Regions from separate parts of the Homo sapiens genome. Here all the other regions are linked to region 4. Evidence: promoter capture Hi-C in 16 types of primary human blood cells and fetal thymus (Javierre and others, 2016). All regions are on one chromosome and are shown on one strand. The core of a region is centred on a gene start or on the middle of the fragment in contact, and the rest is flanking DNA. Distances in the headings are between cores, read along the strand shown. Region 1 has its middle 200 kb from the start of MIR7160. Region 2 overlaps ARHGEF10 (Rho guanine nucleotide exchange factor 10). Region 3 has its middle 220 kb from the start of MIR7160. Region 4 holds the start of MYOM2 (myomesin 2). Region 5 has its middle 3.0 kb from the start of ARHGEF10. Region 6 overlaps ARHGEF10 (Rho guanine nucleotide exchange factor 10). Region 7 has its middle 180 kb from the start of MIR7160.

The links. The method cuts DNA at HindIII sites, captures the fragments that hold promoters and counts their contacts. A CHiCAGO score of 5 or more calls a contact.
Region 1: a contact is called between a fragment that was not itself captured here and the fragment with the promoter of MYOM2 in region 4, in 7 of 17 cell types (activated CD4 T cells, naive CD4 T cells, fetal thymus and 4 more). The highest score is 10.0, in activated CD4 T cells.
Region 2: a contact is called between a fragment that was not itself captured here and the fragment with the promoter of MYOM2 in region 4, in 1 of 17 cell types (monocytes). The highest score is 5.1, in monocytes.
Region 3: a contact is called between a fragment that was not itself captured here and the fragment with the promoter of MYOM2 in region 4, in 1 of 17 cell types (total CD4 T cells). The highest score is 5.5, in total CD4 T cells.
Region 5: a fragment that was not itself captured here is called in contact with the fragment with the promoter of MYOM2 in region 4 in 1 of 17 cell types (neutrophils); the score reaches 6.4 in neutrophils.
Region 6: a fragment that was not itself captured here is called in contact with the fragment with the promoter of MYOM2 in region 4 in 6 of 17 cell types (neutrophils, activated CD4 T cells, monocytes and 3 more); the score reaches 14.1 in neutrophils.
Region 7: a contact is called between a fragment that was not itself captured here and the fragment with the promoter of MYOM2 in region 4, in 7 of 17 cell types (activated CD4 T cells, total CD4 T cells, fetal thymus and 4 more). The highest score is 10.3, in activated CD4 T cells.

The regions. Positions count from the first base shown.
Region 1 is chr8:2,274,176-2,277,010 of GRCh38, forward strand. No RefSeq gene overlaps it. Among named protein-coding and RNA genes, the nearest start is that of MIR7160, 200 kb to the left of the region's middle. The HindIII fragment of the contact is 905 bases long and covers 931-1,835 here.
Region 2 is chr8:1,853,413-1,856,254 of GRCh38, forward strand. All of the region lies in intron 2 of ARHGEF10 (Rho guanine nucleotide exchange factor 10), which reads left to right. Among named protein-coding and RNA genes, the nearest start is that of ARHGEF10, 31 kb to the left of the region's middle. The HindIII fragment of the contact is 439 bases long and covers 1,338-1,776 here.
Region 3 is chr8:2,297,131-2,299,997 of GRCh38, forward strand. No RefSeq gene overlaps it. Among named protein-coding and RNA genes, the nearest start is that of MIR7160, 220 kb to the left of the region's middle. RefSeq lists an enhancer at 1,656-2,155. The HindIII fragment of the contact is 4,151 bases long and covers 1-2,867 here.
Region 4 is chr8:2,043,778-2,046,687 of GRCh38, forward strand. It overlaps MYOM2 (myomesin 2), which reads left to right and starts at 1,269. Exons shown (of 37, transcript NM_003970.4): 1 at 1,269-1,391. The HindIII fragment of the contact is 1,181 bases long and covers 1,163-2,343 here.
Region 5 is chr8:1,819,341-1,822,468 of GRCh38, forward strand. No RefSeq gene overlaps it. Among named protein-coding and RNA genes, the nearest start is that of ARHGEF10, 3.0 kb to the right of the region's middle. The HindIII fragment of the contact is 4,377 bases long and covers 1-3,128 here.
Region 6 is chr8:1,872,299-1,875,286 of GRCh38, forward strand. All of the region lies in intron 7 of ARHGEF10 (Rho guanine nucleotide exchange factor 10), which reads left to right. Among named protein-coding and RNA genes, the nearest start is that of ARHGEF10, 50 kb to the left of the region's middle. RefSeq lists an enhancer at 1,081-1,792. The HindIII fragment of the contact is 6,557 bases long and covers 1-2,988 here.
Region 7 is chr8:2,256,244-2,259,205 of GRCh38, forward strand. No RefSeq gene overlaps it. Among named protein-coding and RNA genes, the nearest start is that of MIR7160, 180 kb to the left of the region's middle. RefSeq lists a silencer at 2,684-2,857. The HindIII fragment of the contact is 679 bases long and covers 983-1,661 here.

The DNA.
Region 1 (2,835 bases), core at 133-2,632, 230 kb after region 4:
CACTCAAATTTCATCTTGAATTGCAATCCCCACATGCCGAGGGAGGGAGGTGATTGGATCGTGGAGGTGGTTTCCGCCATGCTGTTCTTGTGATGATGAGTGAGTCTCATGAGATCTGGTGATTTCATGAGCGTCTAGCATTTCCCCTGCTTGCATTTCTCTCTCCTGCCACCCTGTGAGTAAGGTGCCTTGCTTCCCTTTCACCTTCTGCCATGATTGTAAGTTTCCTGAGGCCTCCCCAGCCATGTGGAACTATGAGTCAAATAAACCATCTTCCTTTATAAATTACCGAGTCTCGGGCATTTTTTATAGCAGTGTGGAAACGGACTAATACACCCATGATTAATGTAATCAGCATAAGTGGATTCTAGCATGTACTTATGTGTGCATGTATGTACATGCATGTACCCATGATTAATGTAGTTCAACTAGACTTTATCATGTATACGTCCTTGTGTGTATACCTGCACAGGTGTGTTTATGTATATGTGTATATGTGCATTTGTGTATATAAATCTGTGTATAAGTGATTTGAAGATTAAATGTAAGCAGACATGGAGAAAAAGCACAGCTATCCAGCAACATGCCCCTGGCGTGTGTAGTCAGGCAGTCAGTGCTATCTGCTGTGAGGTACTTGTGTAGCAGGCGGGATAATATGATACAGAATATGGATGGATGCTCGGCTGTGTGTTGCCAAGCTAATCTCCTCTGCCTTGACTTTTTCCTTTCCTCCTCCCTCCTTCCCCTTGGAGTCATCTTGTTGACTATGGACTACAGAGTTATGTGTAAGTGGCTTCAGTGGGGAGCAAACAGGACAGCTCTGTTTGCCTTCGCCTCCCGAGGAGAACCTTTTCTGCACATCTGGTTTCCCCTTCACTATGTGATGCAGGGAAATTCCGGAAAATGCAGATGGAGAAAGTGCATCCACGAAGCTTCCACAGCTATGTGTATGTGTGTGCCCTACACATGTGCTTGCGTTTGAACCATGGGGTCTCTCGGGCTTACGATCAACTTGCCAAAAACTTTAGATCTCATTGAAAGCATGTGCCCTTTCACCCGTGAGCTAAACCTTGGGGAATCACACAGACTTTAACTAACCTAAGTGATTGAATACCTCTCGTTCATTTGGTTAGTGGACATGCTCATAGGGTGCAGGCCACTACCCTGGAGACACTTTCCGAATGGGAAACAGAAAACAGATGTGAGTCACACACACACAAAAGTTACCTCTGGAAAAATAGGATGGATTCTGTTTCCTCTCCTTCTAAAAGACTGTATTTAAACTGGTTCTGGTTAGTAAAGACAACATAAATATCTTTTCCTAAAATCTGTACCAAATTACTTCACTGAGAAGTCTCTGAGGATGTGCAGCCAGGACCGCAGGTCATATATTTTAGCCGCGTTGGGTCACTCACCTGGAGAGCCTGTCCTCAGCCCCCGGCCTCGCCCCACAGAGGCTGATTCGCTGGGCGGGTGGATCCGCTCGTTCTGTTTCTGATTAACTCGCGGGTCATGAGGCTGCTGTTGCAGGGAGATCCAGAGCTGGAAAACACCGCTATAGACCAGCACAACTTCACATTTTGGTCTACATGGATCATTTTGAGAGTATGATTAAACATCTAATCTCCAATTAAAAAGAAATCCATGTGTATACCTCTTTCCAAAATATCCCATATATATTCAGAAATAAGGGCTTTTTAATACAAAATCACTTAATTCTTCCAAACGTCGTTATCTGTGCCACCTACAGTTGCAACCACGTTCAAGGTAGAGACTGACTAGCTTGATACAATGGATGTTTAGGATTATCTCTTGCAGGGAAAATGGAGAAAATAAGCTTTTTTAATATTGCTCTTTAAACCTAGATATGTTGGCCATTTTAGGGTTTACTTACATGATGTAAAAAGTACCTACCAGGGCAATAGTTTTAAAACCCTTATTTCCAAAGCTTATAAATGCTTCTGTGGGTTCTACCTTAATTGTTATAAACAGCCTTTTCTCCATCTCTCATTCACTCTGCTTCAGGCCTGCCCATGTCTCAGCTCTGTCCAGCTTGAATTAAACTGTTGTTTAGGTTGGGAAGTGTTAATGAGTCCCTAACACTTCTCAGCTGTCCAGTCTCAGCTCAAAATAGCTTCCTCACCAGACATCTCTTTAGGGGCTGACCGTCTGCAGGCCTCATCTGGCCCAAATATGTATTGTCAGCCCACAGAGGCGTGTGGTTTAGGTGCTGGCTGGTTTGAGAAGTAACCTGAACATGATGTTGGCTAGGCATACACTTGGTTTTGCCACAGTCTTCGCTATCCCCTACTGGCCAGCCTGGCCGATTCATCCCTTTATGTTAGTGCTGGGCCTTTCCTGAGTAGCTCCGGTTGACTTCTAAAAGTAATGTTAATTCAATCTCCCTTTCTGTCTTTACCTACCTATCTGGTGACTATTTATACACACTACATCTAGTAAATATACTAAATAACTATGTATAGTGCACCAAATGTTTTGGATTAATATTAGCTCCTTTTCCCTTGGAACGTGATTCTTCCTTCTTAATACCCGGATTTATTTCTAGGGTGTTTACATCATTCGAATAATTTTGTTTAAATCATTTAATTTAAATAATTAATTGTAAAACATTTAAATTACGTATACTGGCTGGGAGCAGTGGTTCACGCCTGTAATCCTAGGACATTGGGAGACTGAGGCTGGCAGTTTGCTCGAACCCAGGGGTTCAAGGCCAGCCTGGGCATCATGGAAATGGCCTGTCTGGCCGGGCGTGTTGGCTCATGGGTGTAACCCCAGCACTGTGGGAGGCCGAGGCGGATGGATCACCTGAGATCA
Region 2 (2,842 bases), core at 307-2,806, 190 kb before region 4:
TCCATGTCGTCTCAAACTACAACACGTTGTATCTCCTGAGATGCTTTCAGCAGCCCTTGAGCATCTTTTCTAGTTTGCAAATTGTAGTTTTTCTCATCAGTGTTCTCCTTCAGCTGAATGGCTGGGTTCTGAAGCTGGGGTTTTGAGAAGCGGGAATTCCTTCTGTGGCTGCAGCAGGAGTGTTGTGGGAACCGACCCAGCCCAGCTTGCCTGGCTCCCGCCAGGGCCCTGAGGATGGCACAGGACCTTTTGTGTTGGAAAGGGCTTGGCCGAGCTTGCGGGGGAGCCTCCTGGGTTGCAGGCCGGAAGTCCCAGGTCAGGGTGCTGGCAGGCTGTGTGTGCTCCCCGGGAATGTAGGTCACAGCCTTCCTTGCCTCTTCCAGCGCCCGCCGGCTGTGGGCACTCCCGGGAGTTCCTGCAGCTGCACTGCCAGGTGGCTCCTCGTCCCTGTGCTGGCCTCTGCTGTCATGAGGACACTGCCACACTGGGTTAGCCGAGCCTGCTCTAGCACAGCCTCCTGTAAACCAATTGCACCTGCAGTCACCTGTTTGCAGACGAGCTCACCAGCAGACTGGGGGTGAGGATTTCAGCACAGGGATTTAGGGGACACAATTGAACCTGTCAGGGCTGGTGTCAGAACTAAACTTAGGACCCCAAATGCTGGGATTTTTAAAGGCATTCTGCATTGCACTTCACTAAGGGACCTGGGGAGCTCGGGTGGGGTCTGTGATGCCCAGGATCCCCCAGGGCCCAGGGCAGTGTCTGGGATGGACATGCTCAGCACACACCACCTTGAACGCCCGGCCCCATGCTCACCTCAGAGGGCGGCGCAGCCTCACCATCGATGGAGGCCCCCTTGGAGGTGGGGGTCAGAGGAGCAGCCCAGCTCCAGGCGGCCTCGCCCTCTGTCCTGGGCGCCCGCCGTGGGCACAGCTGTGGGCACCCATGCAGGCAGGGGTGCAGCCTCAGGTGGTTACATTGAGCACAACTTCTTTGAGTTCTTGTAGAAAGGCTATTTTTTTCTTACTGGAACTGAATTCTGAGAGGAATTTGTAACACACATCATTCTGCAGAGTCTATATAACTTGAAAGTCTTTCCCTGCAGTGTTTGCAGAGGATGGAGGGCAGCTCCGCCAGTGTCTGCCAGTCTTTCAATGACAGCAGAGAGCTCTTGAATTCCAAGCCCCAAGCCCCTTCCAAGCCCCTCCAAGTCTAAACTAACAAGATTTAAACTTTTGGAGGAATTTCTTGATTGCTTTGATTTCCCTTGTATAGTAGAATTCTACTTAAATTTTACTAGGGGAAAAAGTGAGTTATTTTGGCAAAAAACAGTTTGAAGCTTGCTCATCTGCTCGTCATTCTCTCATTCATTCGCTCACATGATGTGCGTGTCACACATTGCCGCCAACCAGGTTTCCCACTGCACCTTGCTGGGCGGTGAGCAGAGGTGCCGGCTCCGAGAACGCATGCGGTTCTTCTCAGGGTCATACCTGTACCTGGCACACGGGACATGCACTGTCCCAGGTAATCCCACCGGTCTCCCGGGGCTGGTGTCACAGCCCAGGAGGTGGCGTATGGGGAGGGAGTGGAGGGGCCTCGGTGTCTCCTCAGGGCTGTTTCCTGCACACACGGGCTCCTGTTCACGGCCTTCCTTCCTGAAGACTTTAAAGAGAATTCCTTCTTCCTGTATGGGGTACAGTGTGGGTTCCGGTCCCAACAGCTCATGTTTCTCCCCTTGCAGATATTTGAGAGCCTATTTTGTACCAGACATTGTCAAGCTTTTTTAAAAAACAATATTTATAGACTCATGTCTAGGTGTATTTTATCTAATTGTTTGAGTTCAGCGGTAGTAAACTATAATTTCCAAAAAAGAGAGTTGACAATATAAAAATCTAGTGTGATTGTGTCACCGTCTGGATGAATCTGAACATGTGCCTGGCAGTGACTTTTTTTGGGGTGGTCAGAACAGAAACTTTTTTTGGGGTGGGGGACAAGGTGTTGCTCTGTCCCCCAGGCTGCAGTGCGGTGGCGCAATCTCAGCTCACTGCAACTTCCGCTTACTGGGTTCAGGTGATCCTCCCACCTCAGCCTTCGGAGTAGGTGGGACCACAGGTCCACGCCTTCACCCCAGGCTAATTTTTGTACCTTTTTTTTTTTTTAAGAGACGGGGTTTCACTATGTTGTCCAGGCTGGTCTCAAATTCCTGGGCTCAAGCAATTAGTCCTCCTTGGCCTTTGAAAGTGCTGGGATTACACGTGTGAGCCCCTGCGCCCAGCAATACATAAACATTTTCACTGATCATTTTCGTCACGGCATTTAGTCGGCATTGTTTCCGCAGCACGTTTATTTGGCAAACATGATTTTTTCTCCCCAAACGTGAATTCTGTGGAAATGACAGTTGCATTTGGAAAATATTCCAGAAAACAGTTTTTTTGTTTGTTTAACTTTTTACTTTAAAAGGTATTCACCAGTTCATTTCCATAAACTGACTACTTAATGATATGGCAAAAAAAAAAACCCCTTCTGAAATAGGTTTTGTTTACGGTCGCTTGGGAGACAGTGAGGACTGGTTTGAAAGTACATAGTTAACAAGGCTCAAACTCTGGAAATTAGCGGTTCTGTCCATTCCAGCTCTCCCCCTGCTTCGATTGTTTCATTTGATTAGGCTTAAATTCAAAACTTTGAATTTAGAGAAGTCTTTGACCCTCTAGGAAGTGGGTGAGGCTTTGGTATCTGGGCAGAGCAGAGTTCACCATCCAGAAGGACAGCAACACACACTCCTATCAGACGTATGTTTTAAAAATAACACATTTCTGAATCCTTTTTCTTGATTCAATTTTAG
Region 3 (2,867 bases), core at 248-2,747, 250 kb after region 4:
TGAGTTAGGGCACCCAGCTCTTCCGGAAGGTAACTCAGGCTGTGAGAACCCAGGGAACAAGTCAGCATCGGGGTGAACCAGAAGCCCCCTTGGATCCAGAGTCATTTTGGAACGTGAGCCCTGCCCTTTGCCAGGGATGTAGAAGGAGTTCTGGGGTGTTTCGCGAGTGTGGTGTCGTCACACCCTGGGTGCTGGATGGGCATCCTCATTGTCAGCTCGGCAGTGACCAGGCAGATAGAGCCACACGTTCTCATCAGGAACCTCTTCATTGTCTTGGGCTGGGCTACAGGATTCCTCACAGAGAAGTCAAGTCGCCAGTGGCTCTCTTTCCAGTGACTGCCCATTTCTCCGTTCCATACATATTTTCCAGACATGGTGTGTGCACGGATGGGCTGGAAGCTGCAGGACTTTCAGTCTGGTTTGTCCTGCAGCTAAAAGACCACAGACATGTGGCAACTGGCCCCGTCCCCAACTCACTGCCTCGGAACCTGCATTTCTGTCGGTTCTCCTGGCCGCTCACATGCACGGTACAGCCTGAGGAGCCCTGTCTGGAGTGTGTTATTGCAACCTGCCAATCCTTAGTGCCAAGGAAGGGGCAAATGTCACTTGCAAAGCTGCAATTTTCTCTGCTTATCTCTTTTTGAGGATAAAATAGGTGAAGGCCATGGCAGCAGGGAGAAGGCTTATGGTTTATAGCTAATTCACCCGGGGAAAGTAAAAGTGCATTCTGTAATTAATCACATCTCCAGTTTGCCCATTATCCTGATCCTTCTCCTCAGATTCCTCTATAGCCCCTGGCCTGTCCATTTTGTGGCTCCTTAACTACCAGGTCAGAGGTAGATGAGATGAAGAAGGGAGATGAGAGGCATTCAGATCGACCCGTTTTATTATTTCCTTGGAGGCTCTTGGAGACTGCTTGATGAGTGAATGCTGAGAATAATGGGTGGAATGCATTAGCGGGTGGCTCGTGCCATGATTAATCTGATTCCTGTCCCATTAATGCTACTAATTGGCTACCCCAAGAAGAAAATGTCCCTCAGCTTCAGGGTGTGGGAAAGCGACGCTACCATGTTGTTAGTAGCCGAGATCATTAACTGTTGCCTTTTTTATTTGCCTTTTCTCGAACCAACCAGACCAACGACATTGCTGTGAACACCTCTGTAGAATTAGCTTCGGCTTGGGCTCTCGGAATCAGCCGTTACTCCCCCAACAATAATCTTTTGGAAATCCCCAAAGCCTCTGTAATTATGGAATTTGACGAAGGCTCTGTTGTGGATTTTGTTTCTTCTCTCTTCTCTCTCCCATTCCTATCCCTGTCAGTGCCCGGAAAAGCCGAAAGGATCCAGGAAAACACTGCAGGAGAACACTGGTAAAGTGGTCCTCAGTGAGGGCAGCTCAGGAGCTTGGAGCAGGAGGGAGAGCTCCCCTGACTCATCACAGCACAGGGCACTGGAACCCCAGGAACAGTGCTCAGTTCCTTCCACGGGAGCTCACGTGGAAAATAATCTCACCATGCCAGCTGCAGTTCTCAGACCCTCTGATCCATAACCCAGCACGGCGGGGCGTGGTAGCCTCACAGTGTTTGTTTTAAATTGTGCCATCCTTGGATTCCCCATTTTGGTCTCCGTCCTCCTACTCTCTCCCTGCTTCAGACAGAGGTGTCAGACAAAAGGGCTCAACTTGGTATCACTGGAAACCCGGCCAGTAGCTCATCAGCTCGTCTTCCAGGCAGGTTGCTGCGATCCTGGCAGGCCTGACGGTGAGGCCTGTGAGCTGGAATGAGCTGCGCTGAGAAACTGACCTCTCCAGTGGGCAGGATGGAGCCACCCATTGAGGCTGAAGACTCGTGTGTGTTCTCATGATCCGATGACCCAGGGAAAAAATAAAACCAAATCAAACCAACCAACCCTGTCTGCCAGGAGGACAGAAAGAATGCCCCAAATTTACTATTTTACTTTTATTTTTTGAGACATGGTCTCGCTCTGTCACCCAGGCTGGAGGGCAGTGGCACCGTCATGGCTCACTGCAGCCTCAACCTCCTGGGCTCAAGTGACCCTTTGCCTCAGTCCCCTGAGTAGCTGGGACTACAGGTGTGTGCCACCACACGCGGCTAATTTTTTGTATTTTTTGTACAGATGGGATTTTGTCTTGTTACCTAAGCTGGTCTTGATCTCCTGGCTTCGATCTGCCTGCCTCAGACTGCCAGAGTGCTGAGATTACAGGTATGAGCCACCGTGCCTGGTCAGAATGTCCCAAATTTATTTAAGGAAAGAATCAGTTTGGCATTTTTTTAAAAAATTGGTGCAGGAAAATACACACGTTGGGTATGACACCTTTAAAGCTGGATATTTTTCTCTGTCTTGTCTCAGGTGTCTTTCAGATGTCCCTTTATTGTCTAAACTTCTGACGACTTGTGCTCAGTGTCTGGCAATCTTGAGAACTCTTCTCTGCGTGCAAAGTCGCATATTTTTAACACAAAGGAAATGAGCAATCTTTTGGGATGCTTTTATGGGTATCTAAAAAGTCCATTATTTTGCCTGTTTTGATGTCCTTATCAGGAACACAAAGCAGAAACAACTTCCTAAACAAATCTCAGCTACTTGAGACGTCGTATGTTCTATCTTTTCACACTTCTTTTTTGTTAGCTACATTATATCTTATAGCAAATTCATTTCTTGGCCCTTTGTTCACAGAGCAATGCAGAACATCTTAGTCCCTGTGATAATAATAGTAATTATCAGTTATGCAGAGCCTTGCCTCGCCAAAGCCCTTGGCAATCATCAATTAGCTAATTCAAACAGCATCCCTGTGAGAGGACTGCTCTTGAGAATATTATAATGCACAACCATTATGTGCTGACCTTTGAC
Region 4 (2,910 bases), core at 19-2,518:
TGTGGGAAAGAAGCTCCTGTGTTTTATAAGCTACACGGTCTATGGTGTTTTGCTAAAGCAGCCTGAATAGACTAAGAAATCACTCAACAAACACTAATTAAATTAAATGCTAGGCCATCAGAATACGAAGGGGAAGAAGACAGAAACACTCGCCTCCTGATCCAGCATCCAGAACGCTCTGGGGCCCAGCAAGAGGCTGTGCTCGCGTCTTTCTCGTATCTGATCTTCGCCTCCATCCACCTGCTCGCTGGTCCTTGGCTGTGCCTCTGATACCCCAGTGTGAGAACGTGGAGTTTCTTAAGGCAATTCTCTTATCATATTTTCTCTACTTGTCACAACAAACTTACAGGAAAGTTGTTATTCCATGCGTTTTAGAGCTGGGGAGCATAGCCCCCGTGGGCTGAGCAGCTGGCCGAAGTCCTCAGCCCCTGTGGTGAGGTGCAGCTGGAGTGTGATTCTCCGGGTCCTCAGATGGGGGCATCCCCTTGAGGCCCCGCCTCTTGGCCAGGCTGCAGCCCAGGACCGTGCCAGGTGTGTGTTATCTATATTTGGACACACGCTGTGCGAAACGACGGGCACCCTGCAATTATCCGTGTGGTGTAGACGCAGTGTACGTCTGTGGTAATGGCTATAAATAAGCCCCGACTTGCCGACTAGGCACCGCTCCTCTTTTGGGTAGGCAGTTCTTGCTAAAATAGCCCTAAGATACAATCGAGTGAAGACCTGAGTCGTTCTTGAAATAAAAAAAAAAAAACGAACAAACACACGAACATGCACACACACGCTCACAAACCCAGGGGCTTGTGCACCTCCCTCCCTCCACAGCCGACCTCAACTCGGGTGTCCAGGCCTGCGAATGGCACAAATGCTCACTGAAATCCATGTCATTATTAAAGACTCATTCAGGAGTTGCAATTTGTGAGCCAGGGAACCTGTAGCTCGAAAGGATTGAAGATATGTCTGAGAATTCACACGTAAGGATTAGAACTCATGGAGGAGAGTTGCGGGGAGGGAGCGTGGGAAGTCAGTGCCCTGCCCTCTCTTTCTGGGTCGGGGGCTGAAGTGTCACACCCGGTTTCCTGGGAAAAGTGCAGTTTGGGACTCAGAAAGGACACGTTCCAGTTTTGAATCGTGATTTCCCCCGCCCTCAGTTTGAACAAGAAGCTTTTCCTCCTGAGGTCAGGCTGGTGATTTACGATGTGGGTATTGATGTGGGGAGAGGCAGGCCCAGGCGTCTATATATAGTAGCTCCTCAGACCTTAAACGGGAGGGAGGCACAGGCGCTTGCTTTGCAGGAGTCAGCTCTGCCTTCCTCGGCTGGAGTGTGGGTGGCTTGGTGAGCCGGTGGTCAGGAATTCTCTCTCCTCCTTGCAATTTTCCTTTCTGTCTGGGTAAGTGTCTTTCTCTTCTTGCCTTTTCTAATTTGTGGCTTTAAGGGGAGGACCGGTAACTTCTGCACTCACATTTTCTAAGTACCTCTACTTCAGGGTCAAGAAGAGAGAGCCAGTGCACCCCGTCGCAGGCACCCTTTACTGTGGAAAACAGAGCAATTAGTTCTGGGATCTGTATTTCTTTGACGAGGTTTTATGCTCAACTAACATTTTATTTCCCACAGCCGTGGTCTTTGCTAAGTGCCGTTTAGCACCCTGCGGCGTGTGCTTTGGGTTTTAGCCCTGGTCTCATCGTGGCCCCAGGGGGCCCCCCAGTCAGTGGACTGATGTCTGCAAGTTTCATGAGATTCTCAGAAACGAAAGCCTCCCCCGAGGAGAGGGCTGACTTATAAAGGTGTGAAATAATAAAACTGGATATTTTCTTAAGGGAAAAAAGAGTCGAGGGTCATTCAGCTTAGACCTAGCCTATATTATCCACGGTATGGGAAAGAGAACAATCCTTGTCAGGACTTGCAAGTTTTTGCCCAAAAATGACAGCGTTCTTACGGCTGTTTTCTTCTTTGTGCTGTTGGGTGTGTTGTGACCCTTCAGACTTCTTCAGCTCCACTCCGCTGATAGAGGCTGTGCCTTCTCAGGGCGTGCTCTTGAAATGCAACCTGCTGGAGAAAGACAGTGGGGCTGGGTGGTTGCACGTGGAAGGCACCGGAGGCAAACGGAAGGAAGGGGTTTGCCATCACTGGGAACACCTGGCCTTTTCTAATTCTCCATTTCACATTCCTTTCTTACTAAGTAGAAGTAAAACAGGACTCAAAGAAAGCGTGGAACAAAGATAATTTAAGGCGTTATTTAATAAACCAAGTCCCAAGCTAAAACTTGTCTTGGGAGCCAAGGGCTTAGCCACTTGTGGCACAGGCCAACGCTGCGTGTCTGGGAGTCCCTTTCCCCTCTAGAAAGCTTTAATTTGGTGTATTTATTGACTTTGACATTTTTAACTGTACAAACAATTTCCTTCATTAAGTGGAAGTCAATGTTTTGTACTTCAAACATTTTTGCAAATTAAAACCCATCCTGGTGACATGAGGAATGGGCTCCACACGTTGTTTGCAGGAAGGAATTAGGATGGGGATATCAGACACGTGGTCCCCTGCACTGGAGGAGAGGCTCGCGTTTCATCCTGGTGTCATGATTCCTAAACGTGTCAGGAGCATTCCGGGAGTGGCCGGGGAGCTGGGCTGTGGTGGAAAGTGGGCTGGACGCTGTCAGGAGAGTCAGCTGGCGCCTGGGTTCGGCCGTGGCCCTACCGGTGACCCGGGCAAGTCATATTTCCCTGGGGACGGTCTGTGCTAACAGTACAGCGTGGCGCCAGGATTATCTACACACAGGCTGTCCAAGCTGGGGGACTGTTAGCTGCCACCTCACTCAGCCCCCTGTTTTACAGCAGAGCAGGTGGAGGCCCCTGAGCTGAAGGTCAGCAGGTCCCCACTGGAGTCTCAGCCTCCCAATGCGCCTGAGCCCCAGG
Region 5 (3,128 bases), core at 449-2,948, 220 kb before region 4:
AAACCCCTTTTTGCTGATACATAACTTAATTTGTTCCTGCTACTGTAACAAAACACCAGAGACTGGGTCATTTATAGACAACAGGAGTTTATTTCTCACAGTTCTGGACGTGGGGAAGTCCAAGATCAACGTGCCAACAGGTTCAGTGTCTGGGGAGAGCCTGGTCTCTGCTCACAAGACAGCACCTTGAGCACTGTGCCCTCACTGGTAGGAGGGGTGAACAGCCCCCTGGCACTTCTACAAGGGCACTAAGCCCATCCCTCATGACCCACTAACCTCCTCAAGGCCCCACCTCTTACTGCTATCACGTTGGTGATGAACTTTCAGTCATCAAGGGGGATGCATTGAGGCCACTGTATATATCCCATGAAGTAGCTTACTCTTGTGTTCGGCTTGATTCTATTTACAAAGTGAACACACCCATGTGTCTGCAAATCAAATCAAGATGTAGTCACCGTTTTCATCACTCCCCAGAATTCCTTTGTCTTTTCTGAGACAATACCCCCAAAAATAACCACTGTTCTGATTCCTATTATTATAGGTTGGTTTGGCACATTCTTGAATTTCATAAAAATTGAATCATACTATATGTGCCCTTTTGTCTATGTTTTTCATGTTTTCAAGATTCATTGTTATTGAACATATCAGTTTCTTCCTTTTTATTACTGTATTATTAGTATTCTATTATTCTATGAAGATACAATACTTTATGAGTTCACCTGTTGATGGAATTTGGGTTGTTTCCAGTTGCGAAGTATTTGAACTGTTTTGAAGAAAGAATTCTTGTAAAAATCATTTTTTTTTTTTGAGACAGGGTCTTGCTCTGTCCACCCAGGCTAGAGTGCAGTGGTGGTGAACATGACTCATTACAGCCTTGACCTCCCAGCCTCAAGCGATCCTCCCACTTCAGCTTCCTAAGTAGCTGGGACTGGAGGTGGAGACTATCATGCTAGACTCCTGGGCTCAAGCAATCCTCCACCTTGGCCTCCTAAAGTGCTGGGGTTACAGGTGGGAGTCACCATGTCTGGCTGTAAAAGTCTTTTAAGGGACTTATGTTTTCACTTGCCTTGGGCAAACCTAAAAGTGGGATTGCTGAGAAATGGGCAAACAATTAATCAGAGTGGTTGCGCCATTTGCACTCTCATCGCCTTGTATAGTGGTTCCAGGGGCTCCACATTTTTACCCTTGCCATGTCGGTCTGCAGTTTCAGCCGTGCTTGGATGACGGTGGTGGCATCTCATTGTGAGTTTACTTTGGGTAACACTGAGCACTATTTCCTGTTCTTGTTGGCTATCAGTACATCTTTGGTGAAGTATTTACGTCTTTTGTTTATTTTTAAATAGACTTGTTATTGTTATTTACAGGCTTGTTATTGTTATATTGTTTTGTCCCTTTTGAAATAGACTTGTCTTGTTATTGTTCATTTGCAGGAGTTCTCTATTTACCAGGACTATGGTTTGAACGCGTTTTCCCCAAAGTTTATGTGTTGGAAACTTGACCCCCAATGCAGCAGTGTTGGAAGGTGCCTACTAGGTGGTGTCTGGGTCATGGGGGTATGACCCTCATGGATGGATAAATGCCATGACTGAGGCGGTGGGCTCCTTATAAAAGAATGAGTTTGGGTGAAACCTCGTCTCTACTAAAAATACAAAAATTAGCTGGGTGTGGTGGCACATACCTGTAATCCCAGCTACTCGGGAGGCTGAGGCAGAATAGCTTGAACCAGGGAGTCGGAGGTTGCAGTGAGCAGAGATCGCACCACTGCACTCCAGCCTGATGACAGAGCAAGACTCCGTCTCAAAAAAAAAAAAAAAAAAGATAAGTTTGGCCCATTTTGCATCCTCCCTCCCCACCTCCGCCTCCCACCTTCCGTCATGGGATGATGCAGCCCGAAGGTTCTTGCCAGATGTGGCTCCTTGATCTTGAACTTCCCAGCCTCCAGAACTGTGAGAAATAAATTTCTTTTCATTGTAAATCACCCATTCCCAGGTATTCTGTTACAGCAGCACAACGTGGATTAAGACAAGCCATTTGTGGGATATATGCATTGCCCCTGTGTTCTCCCAGTCTGTGGCTTGCCTTTTCATTTTCTTAATGATGTCATGAGATGAGTAGAAATATTAAATTTTGATAAGCCATTTAATCATTTTTAAATGGTCGGTCCATTTTCTGTCTTACCTGAAGATCCGTAAGATCTTTTCTTATATTTTATCCTAGCAACTTTATAATTTTTACACTTAAGTCTATGATCCATCTGAAATTCCTAAATTCTATTTTAATCCTAATAGTTTATTTGTAGATAATTTTGTTTTTTAACATATATAATCATATTGACTGTAAATAATCAGTTTTTCCTCCCTCAATCCTTACACTTTTTGTTTTTATGACCTACAACACTTGTTAGATGCTGCAGGACAATGCTGAATAGACTACGGAGAGTCAAAGATTTTCATACACCCTTATCAGTACAAGTAGATAAAAAGTACAAGTAGATAAAAAGTACAAGTAGATAAAAAAATCAGTAACAAATATGACCTAATTGACATCTGTAGAACTTTATGTCAGTGAAAGCATGTTCTCAGCAAGTGCTCATAGAACATTTACCAAAATAGACAATGTTGGGCCATGAAGCAAGTGTTTGAAAATCTTAAACGACAAAAATAAAACAGCTGATGTTTTAAGGCCCGGTGGAATTAAACTTTAGTTACAATAAAAAGAAAACCAGAAAGTCCCCATATATTTGAAAGGTGAACCTAACTTTTCTAAATATCCCATGGGTCAAAGAGGGAATCACAATGGAAAATCCCAACTCTTCCATATCCGGGCTTACGAAAATAGGGATGTATCTGTGAGGAACGCCTGAATAAAGCAGACAGACAGGATCTATTGGAGCTCCAAATCAGGGGATTTTCTGCCCAACCTGCCTGGAAGGCATTGCTCTGTGGCCCTACTCAGTGGTGTCCCTGGCGGCCCTGAGTTTAGGGGCTCAATTTCATCCATTGAGAAAATGAGTTGTTTATTCCATACACAGGACTATTTCCTCTTATCTCTACCTTTTTAGAAAACACTACAAGTATCAGGATTTTCTCATCGTATTTAGGTAAACAAGAACTAATTTAGTTGACCTT
Region 6 (2,988 bases), core at 115-2,614, 170 kb before region 4:
GGCTCAGATGTTTTTATGCTGGGGTTTATTGAGCCTTCAGGGAGCGGACAAACCCCTCAGTCGCATGCACTGTTCCAGTGAATAGCAGAAGCAAGGATGAGGTGAGAATTAGTTTATAATGTTAGCAGAAACTTGTAAACTCCCTCACCTGCGAAGGTTGATGCTACATTTCCTTCCAGAAATGTCAGGAAGTTGAATCCAGCATGACCCTAACAAGTAAGCAAGAGCCTGTTTTAACCTTTTACATTCATGGCAGCAGTTCAAGGATCCTTTGAGAAGCTCTTGTAACACGATTTCCCCAAATTGATGGACATAAACCCATATGCTTATCTCAGCATGTGTTTAAAAAGCACTTGCTGAGATTCAGTGACCATCCAACATTAAAAACTGCTGATAGAAGGAAACTCACTTAGCTGAATTAAGGACGTGTTCTTAAAATCTACCGCCAACGTAATGGGGAGGAGCTCACGGCGTTCGTTAATTTATTCATTCCGCAAATATGTTTTGGGCAGTTACATACCGAATAGTAGATGGAGGTGTGCCTGCTGTCATGGAGATAGGGTGATTTCATCCTGTTGATCAGGAAAACTCCTAGGTGCTTGCAGGTAAATGTGCCACAAAGAAAGTGAGGACCAAAGGTTAGTTGATGTAAAAACAAGTTTGAAATGCATTTTGGGGTAATTTATCCGGTCGCTTCGGGCATTCCTCGCGGAAGGCGTGGTCTGGTGACTCAGAAGCCAACACACTGCGGGAGTCCAGCCGTCGGCCCCCTGCCGTGTGGCGAGGCCCAGTGTGTCCCCTTTGTAAGGACAGCACAAGCAGGAGTTAATGGACCGGCCATCCATAGCGGTGGTGGGGCAGGGAGCCAGTTTCCGAAAGAAACTCACGCCGCCGCAGGAGGGCCCTGTGGGATGCTCTGTGCAGAGCTGTTGTGCGGACCGGGAGACGGGAAAGCCTGGTGGCTGCAGGAGGGCACCGTGCAGAAGTATCCAGTAAACCACCCACAGCACGGCAGCAGAAAAACGAGGAAATTATATGTGTGTATGTTTATAAGAACTCAGAAGCAATGGTGAGCAAAAAGCAAAAGCAAGAGGAGAAAGTCACAGTGTGCTGGCATCAAGTTGCATTGAGAGGAGCCCGCGGGGTAGTGCACCCGCATTTCCTCGTTGCGTTGAGAGGCGCCCGCGGGGTAGTGCACCCGCATTTCCTCGTTTGAGAGGCGCCCGCGGGGTAGTGCACCCGCATTTCCTAGTTGCCTTGAGAGGTGCCGCGGGGTAGTGCACCCGCATTTCCTAGTTGCCTTGAGAGGTGCCCGCGGGGTAGTGCACCCGCATTTCCTAGTTGCCTTGAGAGGTGCCGCGGGGTAGTGCACCCGCATTTCCTCGTTTCATTGAGCGGTGCCCGCGGGGTAGTGCACTCGCATTTCCTAGTTGCCTTGAGAGGTGCCGCGGGGTAGTGCACCCACATTTCTTCACTCGTTTAGAGTTCGGGGCTCTCAGAACACAGGGAGAATATGGGAGAATTCCTTACTAGATGTTACAGAGGCCACACAGGGCCACTTTTTTCTTTTTTTTTTATTGTGTCAGGTATACGTAAATATTCCTTTCGGTCAGTTCAGCACGTAGGACTGAGTGGCATTAGGTACGCTCACTGTACAGCCAATGCCTCCATAGGCCACTTTTTAAATACGCGGGGCTAAGGGCCAACGACAAGATTGTCATCGAGGACAATAAGTCGATGGCGCTGCCTGGTCACTGGCTTGGTCAGAAAACACATGCCAGGGTGACTGGATTTAACGTTCAATTTTAGAACCACAAATCTGCCAGCCCAGGCATTCAAGAGGAAGTGAGTAATTCACTGAATTGATGGTTAGCAAGACCCTTCAAAGTCCTTGGAAGTTCCGTGTTTGCTGGGGGTCACAACAGCAATTGCGTTTCTAAAACATTGAAAACCACCCGTTTTTCACACATCTGAATAGCCTGAGTTCTAACAGACCTAAGTAAAGGCGTCCAAACGTGCCTGATCCTGTGGCTGGGTCCCAGGAGCCTTAACAAGGCATTGAGAGAGCTGGATTGATTGATTAGACTCTTGCCAACTGCTGTGCGGAATACAGAAAATGCAGCTCCAGCTCTCAAAGGGCTGAAAATCTAATTGAGGTGAAAAAGGTAACATGTGTGAAAACCATGTCTGTGTAGACTTGTTTTGTATGGACCAGAAAAGTTGGAAGTCCAGAGATGGATGCGAGGAAATAGGGGATGGAGTTTCCTTATAACCTCTGGAGGGACAGTCCAGATACATACCGGGGTGTGTAGCGGGTGGAGGTTCTAAGACAGGCTGGAGGAACAGTGCAGACACACACCAGGGTGTGTAGGGGGTAGAGGTTCTAAGACAGTCTGGAGGGAGAGTGCAGACACACACCGGGGTGTGTAAGCAGTGGAGGTTCTAAGACAGGCTGGAGGAACAGTGGAGACACACACCAGGGCGTGTAGGGGGTAGAGGTTCTAAGACAGGCTGGAGGAACAGTGGAGACACACACCACGGCGTGTAGGGGGTAGAGGTTCTAAGACAGTCTGGTGGGAGAGTGCAGACACACCCGGGGCCGTGTAGGGGGTACAGGTTCTAAGACAGTCTGGTGGGAGAGTGCAGACACACACGGGGCTGTGTCGGGGATAGAGGTTCTAAGACAGTCTGGTGGGAGAGTGCAGACACACACCAGGGCGTGTAGGGGGTAGAGGTTCTAAGACAGGCTGGAGGAACAGTGGAGACACACACCACGGCGTGTAGGGGGTAGAGGTTCTAAGACAGTCTGGTGGGAGAGTGCAGACACACCCGGGGCCGTGTAGGGGGTACAGGTTCTAAGACAGTCTGGTGGGAGAGTGCAGACACACACGGGGCTGTGTCGGGGATAGAGGTTCTAAGACAGTCTGGTGGGAGAGTGCAGACACACACCAGGGCGTGTAGGGGGTGGAGGTTCTAAGACAGGCTGGA
Region 7 (2,962 bases), core at 72-2,571, 210 kb after region 4:
GCGGTGGCATGATCTCGGCTCACCACAACCTCCACCTCCTGGGTTCAACAATTCTTGTGCCTCAGCCTCCTGAGTAGCTGGGACTACAGGCGAGCACCATCACGCCCAGCTAATTTTTGTATTTTTGTTACAGATGAGGTTTCACCATATTGGCCAGGATGGTCTTGATCTCTTGACCTCATGATCTGCCCGCCTCGGCCCAGTCACACATGTTTCCCTACGCAAGCTCCCTATTGATTGGAATGATGAATATTTCCAATGGATCGATTTTCAATGGTGGAAGAAATTTGTCACTTGCATAGGTTTGTCATTTGCCTAGGCGAAAGGTTGCTTGATCTTAGAAGCGTCATTGCCTCTTTTTGAGAGGAAATTGAATTTCAGAAAAGGCTGTTACTAGATGAAGTGAGAACTGATTGAAATTATCAGTCACTCCTAATACATTTTGGGTGGACAGAGCCATGTGGAGGAGCTTCTAGGCTGCACATGAGATGGACATATTCCAAAGGCCCATGTGAATATACACATCTGTATTATGGGAGGAGAAACATATGCATGCCTTAGTAAAAACCAGCCAGTAGCATAGAAGAGCCAGCTTTCAATGAGCAGAGAGCAGGGTGGGAAGCAGGAGACAGGCCCACTCTGGTTGGGTGGTTAGGAGTTGGTAAGTCCATAGGGAGGATACATGCGGAACACCATTGAGTGCTATTAGCTTGGTGGCCTTGGGCGGCCAGAGTTGGCGTGGATGGGTAGATGACGTCAACAGAAGGAATGAATAATCCTGCTGGGAGATACTTTCTCCTCTCACGACTTTGCTCAGAGCTTGACACGAGGATTCGTGTTTGATATGAAACACCATTCAAGAGTTTTACTCACAATTTATGCCACATATGCAAAAACAAGCAGAAGAAGAAATGAAAATATGTAACATACGATCTTCAAGAATAATTCAGATATTTAAATAAATGGGAGAGAGAATTTTGCAAGCTTCTTAATTACAAATAATAAAACCGTTTTAAGAGAAGTTTGTTTCCTGTTTTCCCTAAGCATAGTGTATGCAAGCATAAAAATTCCATGTGCCTGTCTTGCTATCTGTCGGTGAGAAAGATATCAAGTTCCTCTCCTTTAACAGGTGGATATCAATATGTTTTTATTTATGAGTGGATTCATTTAATTCCTGGATATGATAGTTCTCATATATTTCTATAAGCTGATTTCTGTGTTATCATAAATTCTAAGTCAGCATTTCTATACCCAAAAGAGCATTTAAAAGGTATCACAACTAATCATTCAGCTAAAACCAGGGCTTTATCTGAGCTCCTGCAGACACAAACACATTGATCCTACAGAGATGCTGATTTCTCTGGTGCTGTAGGAAGCACCAATGGGAAAAAACTGACTTTAAAAGTCAGTTAAGGAAGTTTAAGAGTATTATCTGGTGTGTCTGAAGTTGGAGTTATTTAGGTTTTATTTTTTCAGACACCAAATGACTCACCTACTTAGTGTAAATTTATGTTTAAAAAAATAACAATTTTCATCTCTAATTAATGCTTCACTTAACCCAAGCTGGACATAAAGGAAGATCATCAAATAATATGTGATTTAGCTCTTGTGATACAAACATGTGAAGGTCTGGGTCATTTTGATTCTGTTAAAATGAGCTAAGCTTTTCATTTCTTTTTCCTATCAAGAAAGGCTCTCGAGCGACTGTGTGGTCAGGGTAGGAGAGGCTGAGGAAGGTTGGGGGCCATAACCTCGGGTTCGGTGTGAGGTCCGGGACGGCCTGGGCCTCAGGGACAGCTGCAGCCAGGTCAGGAACACGTGCGGCTCTCCTGCTTGGCCATTTTGTCATTGTCGTTCTGTGTTTTTTGTTGTCTGTGTGTTTTCTTGTTTGCATTGGGCTCTATGAATATTTTTATTTTGACTTGAGTGAAACCTTGGATTCACCAAAATGTCTGACAAATCGTTCCCCATCCTCCACCCCCCACCCCCCACCATCCCACCTGATTTGGTCAATCATCAAACATTAATTGAACATTTACTGTCTTCCTCGCCTGCTAGTACGTGCAGTCATGCCTCACTTAATGACAGAGCAATGTGTTGTTAGGCATCTTAGAATCTGTGAAATTTCTTAAGTAAAATTGGAATATTGTTACGTTTGGATTAAGTATGACTGTGCTCAAGACAAACTCATCTGCTTTTCTGTCTCCATGTAGATTTTAATCTACATCCTTTGGCATGCATCGGCATATATGTACCATGCTTGAGTTTGTGTGTGTATGGGTCACCGTAGTATATGGGGCTACTGTAGAATATGTGGTTTGTTGTTGACTCAAGCATTGTTATGGGGTGCATGACTGTATTTGTGGGATGTATGGTAAAGGTAGATCAAAAAAATCTACTTTGACTTTAAGACATTTAAAATATGCCTTTCTTGAATTTGTCCACAATGCAAATTTAATTTCTGAAACCTGAAGATAGATAAAACTCATTTTAATTGAGATGAAAACACAATCTGAAACCTCCCTAAATTTCTTCAGGGGTAGTTTAGGCTATGATTGATGAAGATTGTCATAACTGTACCACTTTCTTGATGTGAGAATGAGTTAACCCTGAAGCCATAAGTCTTAGTCCATCCAGAATTTTGTAACAAAAATTCCACCACTGGGGCCTGTGAAACAGTAGACGCGCCTTTCCCACAGTTCTGAGGCTGGAAGCTGGAGATCCGGGTGCTGTAGGCTCTGTGTCTGCTGAGGGTTTCCTGACTCAGATGGAGCCTGTTTGCTGCATCCTCCCATGGCGGAAGGGGTGAATGAGCCCCCTTAGGCCTCATTTACGGGGGTACTAAACCCATCTGAGAGGGCTCCACCCCCGTGGCCTAATCACTTCCCAAAGGCCCCACCCCTTAACACCCCCTCATACCATCCCTTTTCAGGTAGGAATTTCTACATAGGAATTTTAGAAG